Regions from separate parts of the Homo sapiens genome. Here region 2 is linked to region 1. Evidence: promoter capture Hi-C in 16 types of primary human blood cells and fetal thymus (Javierre and others, 2016). All regions are on one chromosome and are shown on one strand. Each heading gives the region's core, a stretch centred on a gene start or on the middle of the fragment in contact. The rest is flanking DNA. Distances are from core to core; before and after follow the strand shown. Region 1 holds the start of GBP4 (guanylate binding protein 4). Region 2 overlaps LOC107985743 (a long non-coding RNA gene).

What was found. The method cuts DNA at HindIII sites, captures the fragments that hold promoters and counts their contacts. A CHiCAGO score of 5 or more calls a contact.
Region 2: a fragment that was not itself captured here is called in contact with the fragment with the promoter of GBP4 in region 1 in 2 of 17 cell types (non-activated CD4 T cells and naive CD4 T cells); the score reaches 7.8 in non-activated CD4 T cells.

Annotation. Positions count from the first base shown.
Region 1 is chr1:89,194,356-89,202,182 of GRCh38, reverse strand. GBP4 (guanylate binding protein 4) reads left to right here and starts at 3,241. Exons shown (of 11, transcript NM_052941.5): 1 at 3,241-3,388; 2 at 4,879-5,073; 3 at 6,759-6,886. The coding sequence starts at 3,349. LOC107985076 (a long non-coding RNA gene) reads right to left here and starts at 3,836. Exons shown (of 3, transcript XR_002958332.2): 1 at 3,775-3,836; 2 at 3,125-3,680. RefSeq lists a silencer at 3,143-3,437. The HindIII fragment of the contact is 3,654 bases long and covers 1-3,407 here.
Region 2 is chr1:89,758,035-89,765,861 of GRCh38, reverse strand. It overlaps LOC107985743 (a long non-coding RNA gene), which reads right to left. Exons shown (of 3, transcript XR_002958333.2): 3 at 6,924-7,005. Among named protein-coding and RNA genes, the nearest start is that of LRRC8D, 59 kb to the left of the region's middle. RefSeq lists an enhancer at 2,628-3,128. The HindIII fragment of the contact is 1,120 bases long and covers 6,018-7,137 here.

The DNA.
Region 1 (7,827 bases), core at 1,992-4,491:
AGAGGAAAAGAGAAAAGGAAAGAGGGAAAAGAGAGAAAAGAGTGTTTTTCAGAAAAAAAAATCTTATGTATAGCTCTGTCTTCATGGATAAGCAAATTATGCAGTCATGTAGTACCATAGCCTCAGAAAAGTCAATGCTTGATTTGAAATTATTATATTGAATTTCTTGATGATTTTTTTAACGACGAGCCCCACATTTTCATTTGAATGCTTTAGTTCATCTTTCTAATATACTCTCTTTTGTTTAATTTCAAAGAAAATGTGTTGTTCCTGGGTACTACTGAGTAGATTGGCTTTGATCAGTAATTAAATAGTAATGTGAAGCGTTATAGAATCATTTTTAAAAGTGTGAAATGCCCCTTGTGGTTAGAACTCAGAGAAGTCATAAATCCCCATCCCCCAATACTTGATACCATTTTTGTTTCAGTTACATGACACTAAAAAAATCCTGGATTAAATTGTGTCAAAAATTCAATAGCAAGTAGCTGCAAATAGTCATGTAATGTGTTCTTAGCCTATGGACGCTGCTCCTTTGAAGCCAGAGTTCATTCCAAGTTGAATATGGTGAGGCTCTGTGACTGGCCTTGAAGTTAGACCAAGTGGCAAAATCCTCTATGGAGTGTGAAAAGCAGGGCTCTTCAACTGGAACACTGCACAGATGGCATAGGCCTGGAGGCTTGTCTGATTTTATTCATTCTTACTGTGGTCTGAATGTTTGCACCTCCCCATCACCCCAAAGTATATTGACACCTAATCACCAATGTTGACACCTAATCACCAGTGTGATAGTATTAGACAGTGGGTCATTTAGGAAGTGAGAATGAACTTAGGTCATGAGAATGAAACTGGTGAGACTAGTGCCCTTATAAATGAGACTCCAGAGACCTGCCTTGCCCTTCACCATGTGAGTACACATCAAGGGGCCACCAACCATGAACCAGGAAGCATACCCTTATCAGACCCCCAATCTACCCATGCCTCGATCGTGTGTTTCTCAGCCTTCAAGAATGTGAGAAGTAAATTTCTGTTGTGTATAACTTACCCAATTTACTTATTTTTTATAGACGCCCAAACAGACAAAGACACTTCTTCATGCTTATTTTTTGAGCCAATCACCTCTGTTAAACAACAATGGTGTTATTATTACTTCTACATCCTTTATGCCAGTTGATAAGAATTTGGTGTTGACACAGAACAGGGTACCTCTTCTTCAGGAGATCATTCCAGATTGGGCCATTCATATGCTTATCACTACCTCCAGAATGTCAATTTGTAAAAACACAGACACACACACGACAGTGACTATTCTGAACTATATTAAAGTAAGTACACACAGATAACATTATCACTTGCCCTGTATGATCTACTAACGTCATAACTTTCTGTCTCCTTGCCTTGCTCAGTGAGATTAAAAACATCTGCAACTCATTTCCTCCAGTTTCCTTCCAAAATCAGTGAGCCAGTAAAACACCCTCATTTCAAAAAACTGTTTTATTTGATACATCTTGTAAATGAATTACAAGTTAACCACAAAATACAAAAACATATAGACATTGCACTTTAAATATTCAAAAAATGTATAAATAAGAAGCTCAAAATCTGATATGGAAAAATATTCAAAAAATGTTCAGAGTCTTTTTATCAAAATAAAAGTTATTTCCTTTTTATGAGTATGTGTGTGCATATCTGTGATTATAAAAAAAGTCTTTAAAAATTCATATAATTCAGAAAGACATTTTAAAAAAATCACCTGAGCTAGAAGTACTAATTTTAAGGAGGTAGTGGTTGGGGGAACACTTATAGACTTTTATCTGTGTAACACAGACATATTGCTATGTATATTTTCTATGTGCATAGACATATTGCTATGTGCAATCATTATACATACAACTGTGAATTAACAATTTTTTTTGAGACAGTATCTCACTCTGTTGCCCAGGTTGGAGTGCAGTGGGACCACCATGGCTCATTGCAGCCTTGACCTCCTGGGCTCAGGTCATCCTCCCACCTCAGACTCCCAGGTAACTAGGACTATTATAACAGGCACATGCCATTATGCCCAGCTAATTTATTATTATTATTATTTGTAGAGATGGGGTTTCCCCATATTGCCCAGGCTGGTTTCCAATTCCTGGACTCAAGTGATCTGCCCACCTTGGCCTCCCAAAATGGTTGGATTGCAGGAGTGAGCCACCACACCCAGCCTAAATTTCTTCTTGATTAACATTTCCATGATTATCTGAAGTCAGTAACATTGGATTATCTGGAAAGGGGTGCCACTGGTGAAATTCAGGTGTTTCAAACACATTTACCTGGATTCAGTCATCCCTGTACTTTTTCTTCTTCTTCTTTTTTTTTTTTTTTAAGAGAGAGGGACTTCCTGACATTAAAAAATGGTAAGAGAAAAAAGCACCTGATTTCTTATTACTGGTCCTATTTAAAACTTGACTTAGCTTTATTTTCACTTTCAATATTGCTTATAGGAAATAAATGTTAAGTTTTGAATCAAAATCGGCACCAGTAATTTTACCTGATTAAGTGCCTAAAATTTTGTACTTATTAATTTGCAAATGTTTAATCAGACATTACTAAACAAATAGGAAGATCTAAGGGATAGGCACAAATGGGGAATCATTACCCATTTATTTCAGATAGATTTCCCAAACTCTGTTAACAAACTGGCTAGTCATTTTAGGAACTGAGTCCATTTTTCTGGTAGCCTGGGTAAGACTCCTAATTATAAATTATGCTTTTTATGGTCCAATCATCCTCCTGTCCTCCAAAAGATCCAGTTTCAATGAGATGTTTGTGTTTTGAAAGAGAAGTATTTACTTGCCACCACCGCACCTCTGGGCAACAACGTTAGAGGATACATAGATATCCATAGACACACACACAAACACACACATATTTTATGGTTAATGAAAAAATAAAGAAAAGAGATGAGAAACAGAAACATATAAGCATGTAAAAAAAAATAAAAGCAAACAAAAACTCAAATTTCTTCCCTGACAAAATTACCCCTGAGAGACAGGTAGATGAAACAACATTCATGTCTGCTGCTCTATATTCATTTTGGAGGCGAAAGATACCTAAGCTAAGGGTGGAAGAGGGACAAACAAACCTGAGTTTCAGGAGTCTGGTGTGGAGGAACCAGCACTTTCAAGCTCCTTTAGTTTCCTGTCTTGATAAACAGGAAAATCCCCAACAGTCAACTCCCCACAAAGTGCATGTCCTTTCAATTTCGGTTCTCACAGACTCTTACTTGGATGTCTGTAAATCCGGCTGGACTTTCAGCTTCTAAGAACAGTCCGTTTCTCGAGGATCCAGGCGCAGGAGGACAGAGCAATGGGTGAGAGAACTCTTCACGCTGCAGTGCCCACACCAGGTAAGTTTGCTCTTAAGCTTTACCTTTCAAGTATATTTGGGTTATAACAAACAACAACAAATTCCCAAGCGCAGACTGCACACGGGGAGGGTTGGAGACTTCACACTGGCGGGTGACAAAGGCAGTGGAGGAACCTCGCGGGGAAGTCTGATGCTGCTTGAACCCCTGAGTGCTTTGCTCCGTGTGGCCCAGCGTCTCTAGACGGTCCACAGGCGGCGACCAGAGGCGCACCGGTGTCTCCAGGATGCGCTGCTCCTCCTCGGGCTTCCTCCCAGAGCTGTGGCATTTTCTCCTGCGAAATACCATCATCTAGTATACATATACACATTTTTTGCTTGTTTGTTTTATTAATTTTCTGTCCCCCACTAGAATATGTGATACCCTACCTTGTTTTAACCTGAGTTGACTCTCCCTTAGCTGAAAGAGCCAGACAGTCTGCATCTCGGCTCCTTCACTTGCAGCCCCTTACCCACCCGCTTCCTCAGGGACTTAACTTGTGCAAGCTGACTCCCAGCACATCCAAGAATGCAATTAACTGATAAGGTACTGTGGCAAGCCATACCCGCAGTTCCCAGGAATTCGCCCGGTTAACAGCACCCAGAGCCCCCCGCGTTTGTGTCTGGTTGATAAAGCCCAAAGCCCCGCTTCTATCACCTTGTGATAGAATTAAAGCCCCTGCACCTAGTACTGTTTACTTTCCTGTAACCATTTATCCTTTTAACTTTTTGCCTACTTTACTTCTGTAGGATTGTTTTAACTAGACCCCTCCCCCCAACCTCTCCTTTCTAAACCAAAGTATAGAAGAAAATCTAGCCCCTTCTTCGGGCCGAGAGAATTTTGAGCACTAGCCGTCTCTCGGTCGCCGGCTAATAAAGGACTCCTGAATTCGTCTCAGAGTGTGGCGTTTCTCTGTAACTCGCTGGGTTACAACAAATAGAGCTCCAAGAGGCAGAAGTTTGTATCAATTATGTTCCTTGCTTGTTGCTGAGAATCTAGAACGGTGTTAATTAGCACATGGTAGGTACGCAATACTCTTTATTAAATTAATGAGAGAGCAAATTCTTCTGGAATGCCTGGAGCCTTTTCTAACCACTCCTCATCTCCTTTTTGTAACATCCTGCCCCTATTTATTCCAGGAGTGGAATTATTCTGCCATCAGTGCCTTGATTTTCTAATTCTGTTTATTTTATGCATCACCTTGACAAGGCATTTTTAGCGTTCTTGTAAGAATCATAAATAATGTACATAACAGATCTGTACTAGTCTTTGACATGCTAAACTAAATATTTTTCCATTTGAAATGTACAAATTTTATATACATAGAAATTTTATATACCATTAAACGTAGAAATATATTTATATACCATTAAAATGTAGAAATTTTATATACCATTCCACAAGCAAAAAGCTAATATGTATGTGCCTTAGGTAGCCCTTAGGGATGACTTCAAGATCTTGTATTCTACTGAGTATTTTTTTCTGGGTTACAGGTTATCCAGAATCTGAATCCATCATGATGGCCCCCATTTGTCTAGTGGAAAACCAGGAAGAGCAGCTGACAGTGAATTCAAAGGCATTAGAGATTCTTGACAAGATTTCTCAGCCCGTGGTGGTGGTGGCCATTGTAGGGCTATACCGCACAGGAAAATCCTATCTCATGAATCGTCTTGCAGGAAAGCGCAATGGTGAGTGTGGTCCTAGGACAGGAGCCATTTACTTGGAACCAGTGATAACACAGCTGATCACACCCCCTCTAGGGTCATCCTAAAGAAGGGCATGACTTCTCCCAATGAAGAAAACTTCTAATTCTCACCACTAAATTTACAATCTCAAATATATATCACTCTTTAGTCCAATAGTAAAGAATCATCTCAACCCTATCGAAAGATCCGTTCCATGGGTCTTCTTCATCCCATCTATGCTCACCTCTTCAGGGGCTCAGCCCCAGCAATTATTCCCTTTCTTTCTCATTCATCACTTTTGTGTAGGATACCTGGTCACTTCAAATAGCACACAAATATAGTTTAATAGATCCTGTTTTAAAAAATAAATATGAAGAAGGACAGGCATTATAATTCTTGTGTATCCTCTATTTAAATTGGGCTACCATTTCTAATTTTTTGCTTCATTTCATGGCAAAACTCTGATAAATTATATTCCCTTCTAGTTAGTCTTTCTAATATGTGAACTATGACACATAAAGAAGAGTATGTACAACATACCTTTACAGTGAAGTTAATAAAGTGAATACATGAGAAATCACTATCCAGATCAAGAAATAAAACATTACCAAACCTAAACATCCAAAAATCATACCCTGTCATACCTTCACTAGAACTCACCAGTGTTTTTGTTTTCAGGGCACACTTCTTTGACTCTTGGTTTTTAAAAATGGTTCTACATAATATATATGCATTCTAAAACATAGTTTAGGTTGGTCTGCTTTTAAACTTTACATAAAGGAAATTATATTGTGTGTATTTTTGGATGTCTTGCTTCTTTTGCTCAATAAGAAGTTTATAAGTTTTCTCTAGTTACTATGTGTACCCATTATTTATACCCTCAGACAGTATGCCACTACCTAAGGACAGTACATTTATTTATTGTTGAAAATTGGTATTTTTCCAGTTTTTATCTTTAATGAATAAGGCTGTCATTAATACTCTTATTATTTATATCCTGGTGCACATGTACAAAATCTTCCTTTGTGTAATATTCTCAGAAGTGGGATTTCTGAATCAGAGAGTACATAAAATTTCTAGATAAAGTCCAATAGCTTTTCAAAATTCAAATGCAATTTACATGCTTATTAGCAGTGACTGAGAATTTTACATCCTGCGAAAAATTCAGTAACATAAAGCCTTTTAACTTGTGCTGCCCTGTAGAATGTATTGTTGCATGCCATTTATTTCACTATGAGTAAGTTTAAGTACCTTTTCACATATCAATTGCCATTTTCATTTCTTATTTTGTGAAAGCTTTTTTTTTAAATTATTTTTTCCTACCAGGTTTCTCTTTTGGTTCTTACTGACTTTTAAGACAATCTACCTATGGCTCTGTTAGGTGCTTCTGTTTTTAAAGAAAGACCATGCAGCCATTTCTTCCCCCTAATGTCCTACTTCCTCTCTGGCTCAGCAGCTCGGCACCATTAGGGACTGAACCGCTGTCTACTAAACAAGTTTAAGAAAGAAAACAAGTTTGAGAAAATTCTTAATACATATAAAGGTCAGATTAGTTGTCCTGCCTGAGATGGAAACAACCCTTTTCCCCTGTCAGCCACTTAAACATTCCTACAAGTTTAACCGGTGTAATCCTGGGACATCCTGGTCTATCCACTGTTACTGTTTGTTATTTTTCCTCTTCCCTGCAGGCTTCCCTCTGGGCTCCACGGTGCAGTCTGAAACTAAGGGCATCTGGATGTGGTGTGTGCCCCACCTCTCTAAGCCAAACCACACCCTGGTCCTTCTGGACACCGAGGGCCTGGGCGATGTAGAAAAGGTAAGGCAGAGAAACTTCACCGCTCATGGTTGACCTCTCATCTTTTAATTTTTTCAGCTCCCTTCAACTTCTGTACATATCTCTGTAAACTCAAATCTAATTATGAATAATGAGGCTAAATTCTGTTTCCTCAGACTTCCTTATTAATTTCAAGTATTGAGGCATATTTAAGAGTAGATCTTCTTATTTTTAACACTGGAGTGAATGATATAATTTAATAAATATGTATTGAAGAGATGAATTCCAGGGCTCTGTACTGAGTACTACAGATAAAACAGTAAACAAGGTAAAGGCCAAGAGCCTAGTTGTGAAGACAAGAAATATGGGGTATGATAAGTACAGGGTTTCACAGATGCAAAAAGTGAGAAGCTAGTTCAGTCATTCGACTTAGAGAAGGCTTGTTGGAGAAAGTTGTAACCCATGGGAACAATGGGATCTACTATTTAAGGCGTGTGGGGTTGGAGGAGGGGACCATGAAAAAATAGGGTTTTAGTGAAGGAATCTATTTCAGTAGTTTTCAGAAAAGCATTAATTTTATCACTAACATTTTGGTTCAACTCTCTGAGCTTTGGAGATTAATTCTCCACTGACTTCTTTAATAGCATGAATTAGACCCACAAAGAATATTGTAAGTGAGATAACTTTAGGTATTTTGTCTTAAAGTGTTAGGTGCGATCAGTCCATTCTTCTTATTTGCATTAGTCTTATGTCTGAATTGAAAGTAGCAGCAGTAGATCCTTGGCTTCCATTATTGAAAAAAGGGAGTTGAGGGAAGGAAGCACCAACTTAGCAATTCTGAACTTTAAATTTCAGTATTAAAGGTCTGAATTATTCTCTTAGTGTAATATCAAAGTGAAACATTTATTCTTAATATGTTGTAGTTTTCATAAACTTCTTTGTGTCTAATTACGTTTGTCAAGCGATCAAAACATATCAAAACA
Region 2 (7,827 bases), core at 5,328-7,827, 560 kb before region 1:
ATAGCTGTCCTGAGAAAGAATATGGATTTTATTAGTAAGGAATAAAAGGGATATGGCTATTGGGTGGCAACAAATGGCAGATGCAACCAGAACCTTTGGGTTGAGTAAAACTATCTTTTTACTTAGCAATTATCAAACTAACATGAATTAAGAACACACATGAATACAAACAATAATTTCGTTAGCAAATATTCTGTGCTAGGAACTTGGTACTAGATGTTAGATATATATTATCTGCAATTTTCACAGCAGTCCTGCAAGATGAATATTCTCCCTGTTTTCAGAAAGATTAGGTTATATCCCAATTAGAGAAATAAGTAGCTCTATTCTGACTTCTATCATTGAAGTCTTGCCTTTCTTGAACTTCAAATCAATTAAATCATATAGGAGGTACTTTTTGGTTTCCAACTTCTCTTGCTCAATATTAGATTCTGGACTCATTCATGTTGTTAATGAATACCATGAATAACTTATTTTTTAGTGCTGTGTACTTATTGTTTGAAAAAAATCAAAATTTATTCATTTTACTGTAGATTGACATTTGGGTTGTTCCTAGTTTAGTGAAATGATTAAAGTAATTAAGATTATTATATGTGATATGATTAGATCATAAATTATATGATTATATAGCTATATGAGTAGGTGACTAATATATAAGTATATATCTTATTATATATTATATAACATATTATATTTACAGAACCGACCAAAATAAATCTGACAAAAAGTACTCCTTTTTGTTGGATTTGCAATTTGTTGGATTTATATACAAGAGTAAAATAAAGTATTTTTAGCTTTAGTAGATACTCTCTAAAAGATTTCCAAAGTAGTTGTACCAAGTTACACTCCCATCAGCAAATTATGAGAGATTTATTTGCCAATGGTTGGCTTTGTTATATATATTATTTTAGAAGGTAGTAAGGAATATGGTATGTGCTATGGAAAAGGAGAAGTTGGGCAAGATAAAGGGGATTGGAAGTACTGGGGGAAAGTAGAGCAGTTTGAAATTTTAAATATGTGGTCAGGATTGGCTTTTATTTATTTGTTTTTTTGACAGGGTCTTGCTCTGTTGCCCAGGCTGGAGTGCAGTGGCATGATCATGGCTCACACTGCAGCCTCAACCTCCCAGGCTCAAGCAGTCCTCCTGCCTCCCAAGTAGCTAGGACTATAGGTGTGTGCCACCGTCCTCTACGAAAAATATATTTTGTATTTTTTGTAGAGATGGGGTTTTGCCGTGTTGCCCAGGCTGGTCTGGAACTCCTGGGCCCAAGCTGTCTGCTGCCTTCACCTCTCAAAGTGCTGAGATTACAGGTATGAGCCGCCATGCCTGGCTGGCTTTTTTTTTTTTTTTTTTTTTTTGAAGGTGACAACTGAACAAAGTCATGAAAAAGTAAGCGAAAGAGCTATGCAGGTATGTGAGGAAAATATTCTAGGTAGAGGGAAAAGCCAACACAAAGGCTATTAATAAATTGCTGGTGCTTTCCAGCAAAAGCAATTGGTCATTGTGGAAGAAACAGAGTGAACAAGGGAGAAAGGTATGGGAAATAACATGAAGGGGGAAAAGAGCCAGATCATGTAGGGCCTCCAGGACATGGTGAGTGCTTTGGCTTTTACACCGAGTGAAATAGGGAGCTACAATAGGGGTTTGAGCAGATGAGTGACATAATCTGATTTACACTTAAAAAAATTCTGGTGGCTAGATTAAAAATAACTGTGGGCAGGAGCAGGGAGATGAATTAGTCTATTGCAGGAGGTGACAGTAGCTTTAACCAAAGTGGTGATAGTGGACGCTCCAGGCAAATAGGGTGTCAAAAGCCGAGGTGCAGAGATGGAAAGTTCAGTTCAAGGCCGGTATCAGAACTGTGAGCAAACCAGTTGTCTTTCTAACGGGGGAAGGAAAATGACAGCTGCCATTTATTGAACATTCACTATGTGGCAAGCATTGTGCTAAATTTGATACTCCGGCGACCTCTTTTAGTCTCCATGACAACCCTGTAAAGACATTTAGAATTTAGAACCTTTCATACAGTTCCATGACTAAAACGTAGCACACCTGGCATTCCAACCCTTCATTTCATTCTACTCTAGCACTAAAGCTAGAAGGGAAGCTTGAGGCCACATTGTGGAGTGCCAAGAGGTTTGAACTTTTGCCTGGTTTGAACTTTTACCTTCTTAATCTTTTCCCCGCATCCCCACATTTGAGGACAGGACACCTCCAGGAACTGCAGCTCAGCAACAGGGGTTCAGCGTGAGCGCGGCCTGGGGAGGGTCATCGCCTTTTTGGGGAGTGTGGGGAGAAACGCGGCTCGCCTTGTCGTGGCTGGCGATACGCCTCTGCAGGAAGGGTGTGTCTCCCCGCTTGAGGATTCTCCCTATAGATAAAGAGGAGACTCAGCAGAGCCTTAATTAGAGATCACAGAGGACTGACAACGAGCGTCCGGAAGACGAATTGGCAGCGAGGTGCATGGATTCGATACAGAAGCTGGAGATAGAGTCCAGCTAACAGACCACTGCAGTTCGACGGAGCCAGAGTGAGGCAACGAGGAGAGATGTCGGGGAAGGAAAGGGGATGGGACTTGGGGACTGGAGCGGCTCGAGAGCGACGGAGAAGGGGGCGTTAGGCTCTAAGGATTCTCTTACTGTGCCTCCTCCCCGTGTCCTCGGGTGGCGGCTGCGCAGCCCTCCAGCCCTCAGAGCTGCCCTGCAGCACCTTGGCCACTAGGAGGCAGGCCCGCCTTATCTGGAGCCCCGGCCGCCGCTCACTCCAGGGAGGGCTGCGCTGCTGCTTAAATTCCAAGTCAGGCCAGCCCCTGGAACGCTTAATGGGAGCTTAGATTTAGAACAGTTGATTTTCATTGAGACGGAAATTTGGACAGTCTCCCACTTGATTGAAAACGGCTAGAAACAAGGCTTACGGTAGAGCAATGAATGCCAGAGTGCAGGCGCCGGTGCCCAGGCGGCCCGGGGAACAGGAGGGCCGGAGGAGGAAACAGCTGCCTGCAAAACACCAGCAGCGCCCTTAATTAACACCAGTGCTGGCCAGGGGGATTGTGCTTCCGGAAATTCCCAACGTCCTTTCCCTGCTTGCCCAGGGCCATTCCATTATACAGTTTCAGACCAGTCCCAGGTCTGAAATGGAAAGAGATGTTACCCTAGATGCCCGGAGACAGCGGGGCCGCAGAGACCTCGCACAGCCGAATAGCAGTGGAGCAGGTGTGTGTGTGTGCATGTGCATGTGTGCACGCTGTGAGGGTGTGGTGTGTGTAACATGCTCCCATGTGTCCGTGTGCCCGCTCTGCAGGGGGAATGTTAATGTTTGATTGTTGTTTGGCTTCAGCCCAAAAGAGAAACAAATAATGAGGTGAACGGAAATGAGCTGGAGTCTCTGCTTTCACCGCTAATTAGTCCCTGCTCGATTTTGACGAAGAAGACATACAATAGACACAAGTGAGCAACGAATGAGAAACTCAGGGACCTAGGCTGGGGAAAGGGCGTCGGGTGGGGGGTGTGTGGGCAGGGCTAGGAAGGGAATCTCAGAAGCCAGTGTGCCTGGATCAGGCCGACAGGTCATTCCCACCCTTAGATGAAAATCTGCGCATTATTCCATCTTGGCTGGCATCTCTTATGGGCTGGCCTTCATCTTACTAACGCCATTTCACTTTTTGAAGGGTTGACAGTTACCTTCTTCACCTTCCCCTGGGCAGTTCTTTGTTGTCTTTGTCAGGCTGGCCCCTGTCCATATTTCTCAGAGCCCTGGTCACAGCTCTCTTACTCACCAGCTGCTCAGACAAACCCAGCCTTGACCTGGCTCTGCACTTCAGCACGTTGCCTGCTGCTCCTTAGACTCTTCTCTTGCTACCTGTGAAAGGTCAGATGCAAAATGGTGAAGGCAGAAACAGACTGTTTGATGACAAGGTGAGGAAGAGCTGCTGCTCAATATACCTGTGTGTCTATTGATGTGCAAGTGAGCAGGAAAGATGGTGGTAGAAAGTCATGTTAGAGACCTCTGTGGCAGACCCTTCAATTATCAGCAATGCCAAGGGTCCCTGTCTGTGGGGCCCCCACAGGCACAACTCGTATGGGCTCCAGAGACACCATTTCAGCTTGAGAATGTGTCCCCCAAGTTGCTAAAGTATGTGTCCTACCCTCAGAGTACCTGGTCTCTCCAGGGCTCTCATAGCCCCTTGTGAATATATGCCTAGGAGTGCATGCTCCTTGAGCATGAATATGAGAATTATAAAAAAAATTCTTCACCCAGAGCAGGTTCTCCTCAGACTTGTATTCTCGAATGTGTGTGTGAGAGAGGGAACTTCATTTCTTTCACATCCTAATAAATACAGAGAATGGTCACTTCTTAGAAACTGTTGTTCACAGCACTTCTGGGTTGTTGCTAGTCTTTATTCCCTTTCTTTTTGCTTGCCCCTTTAGGGCACAACTGTCCCAGTACAGGTTTTCTTTCTAATGCTGCTCTTCTTTTTTGTTTGTTTGTTTGAGATGGACTCTCACTCTGTTGCCCAGGCTGGAGTGCAGTGGTGCGATCTCAGCTCACTGCAAGCTCTGCCTCCTGGGTTCAAGCAATTCTCCTGCCTCAGCTTCCCAAGCAGCTGGGATTATAGGCGCGTACCACCACACCCAGCTAATTTTTGTATTATTAGTAGAGATGGGGTTTCACGATGTTGGCCAGGCTGGTCTCGAACTCCTGATCTCAAGTGATCTACCCGCCTCAGCCTCCTAAAGTGCTGGGATTACAGGCATGAGCCACCATGCCCAGCATGCTCTTCCTTTATAATTTGGTAGATTGGGCCATGGTGGGAGTTCTCAAACTTTAATAATAATAAAAAAAGTCTCTCAAGGAGTTTGTTTTAAATGCAGATTTCTCAGGTCCTGCCCAAATCTATGGAATCAGAATTTCTGGAGCAGTCCATGGGAATCGGCATTTTACCAATCCCTCTGCTACCTCCTCCTCTAAGATCCGAAGTCAGATGGTTCACAGAACACATATCATAAAACGTGGTGCTGATGGAGGCCTTGGGCCCTTGTCTGGCTTGCTCAGGCTGCTATAACAAAACACTGTAAACTGGATGACTTATAAACAACAGCAATTTAATTCTCACAGTTCTGGAGGCTGGAAGTCCAAGATTGGATTTGGTTTCTGGTGAGTGCTCACTTCCTGTTTCCTAGAACAGTTCTTTTCCCCTGCGTCCTCACTAAGTGAAAAGGGAAGATAAGCTCCCTTGGGCTCCTTTATAAGGGCACTGTTCTCACTCATGAGCCCTCCATTTCATGACCTAATCACCTCCCAAAGGTCCCACCTCTTAATACCATCACCTTGGGGTTTAGATCTCAACATATGAGTTTTGGAGAGACACAAACATTCAAACAAAAGCAGTCCTTTTCTTAATTTTGAGAGTTATTTATATATTTTAGACTCAAGACCTTTCTTAGAGATGTAATTTCTAAATATTTTCTTCCTGTCTGTAATTTGTCTTTTGATCCTTTGTCCAAGGTCTTTCACAGAAGTTTTTAATTTTGATGAGATCCAATTTATAAATTTTTCTTCTTATGGCTCATGCTTTTGGTGTCAAGTCTAAGAACTTTGCTTAGTCCTACACCCCAAAGATTTTTCTCTTATATAGTTGTATGTTTATGTTTTAGTCAATTATCCATTTTGAGTTAATTTTGGTATTGGTTTAGGTCCAATTGCTCCAGCACCATTTATTGAAAAGGCTGTTTCTCCTCTATTGCATTGCTTTTACTTCTTTGTCTAAAATTAATGGGAATTTTGAGTGGGTCTATATCTGTGTTCTCTATTCTGTTCCACTGATTGATTGCTTTGCCTGTTCCCTCTACCAATACCATACTGTTTGGATACAGCACTTATATATAGGGCCTTAACATTTGGAAGCGTGATTCTTCCCACTTTATTCTTGTTTTTAAAGTTTTTTTTTTTTTTTTTTTTTTTTTGTTTTTTGCAATTCTTGGGTCTTTCCCTTTCCATATAAATTTTAGAGTAAGCTTGTCTATGTCTATGAAAAAAACTTATTTAAATTTTGATAGTAATTACATTAACATGATCTGGTTACGGAGAAGAAACTGTGTGGAAAAGTTGGGCAGTCGTAGTTGCTATATGATTTGTTAATAAACTTTGATCCTTCTAGAATCCTAGAACCAGAGAGGACTCAACACTTTAAACTGGCTCCAGGGAACATTGTAGGTTCTTGGGGGTTCATAAACTGTCTTTAGGAAAACGGAGCTGTCTTAAGAGAAGTAAGTTGTACGTACTTCTCTGAGAACCGAACTTTCTCTCTTATGGCTGTGAGAACCAAATGTTTACTTAAGTAAAATTGATCTTCATTTCTACTTCAACAGGGAAGGAAGAGCTGAAGGACCCTGGGGATGATTGAACATAGCCTCTCACCAGCGCGCTCAGGAATTGTCCTGAGAGCAGCAGGAGGAGTGGTAATCCTGCAAGAGAAGGTGGCTTTGTTGAGAGCCTTTAAATTCAGCTTTATTACTCGCCAGTCTCCTTCCTTGTGTTCTGGCCATATTTCTTATCCATTAGGCAGCCAGCCCTTCACATGAGATCCTCCTGGTTTTGCATTCTTTTCTGCAATGCTGACACTTCCTTCTAGTTACACCCTTTGGCACTCTAATCTGTGGTCTTAGTTTTAGTCACTGATGAAGATATTTGGCACATTAACTCTTATTTCAGTTAACACCAGATGAAGTGAACTCAATTCCTCTTCTCACACAAAAGTTGGCCCCAAACTAGTTCAAAAATATATTTGAATTCTTTCTTGGCTAGTGTCGGTTATTTGTGTCCCTTTAGTGATCTGATTAATATTTGCTTTTGTGATGGTTGTCACATCAAGATAGCTGCAAGCATTGTTAAAGAGACATTTGATAAGAGGGACTACTTACCTGGAATTCACCCCCAGACCACCGAAATCTTAACTACTGATGACAGTTTTGTGTATCCTTTAAGGAGCTCTTGAACTCTGAATTCTATAGAGAAAATAAAAAGATTTGTTGAAAATGACTGACCCCATGTGGGTTGAGAACTATATCCAGTTAACTAAACTGTAAACAGCTAACTGAATCTGTTAACAGTTAAGTATGTTATCTATAAAATAAGCTTCAAGTAGCACTGTGTTGTAACTTCTTGGTGCCTCCAAATTAAGAGTTAAACCCTTAGATCTGGCTAAGGAAATGACTTTATCCTAGCCCAAAGGAGACCTTTTCCTCAACTCTTCCTCCATTATTTTTATTCTCTATTGTTTACTCATCGTCTCATATGTCCCCTGTCATGTTACATTGGAATCATTTCTTTTAGATGCAAACTGCAGCTGATGTGTTCATTGGGTCTATTGCAGCCCCCACCAAGTGTTCACTTCTGGTGAGAGGCATATCCAGGGCCTGAGTGCTGGAACCCAAAGATGACAAGGGTGGAGCATTGATGAGTTAACCTCGCAGCTGGAGGGTCTGTGCTGCATAGTCTCCCCTTGGGCCATGAGAGCACATGCTTGAGAATTACATAAGCCTGTAGCAGGGCAGGGCTCAGGGCTACGGAATTGATAACACCAGTGGGACTAAGGCATCCACCATCTGTTCTTTGTTATGTTCATGCCCATCACCAAAGTAAAAATCACAGTCATCCTTCTCTCCACCATTTCTGTCTCAATCAATCACTTCCTCCTAGGCTGGCCAAATTATCTTCTTCAACTTGCCAGAGGAAGAGGGAATGTCTTTTGGTAAGGCACAGAGGAGCCCTTGGTTTTCCAGTTACACTCCTGCTAATTGCAGAGATTTCTCAGTTCGTGGTAATCA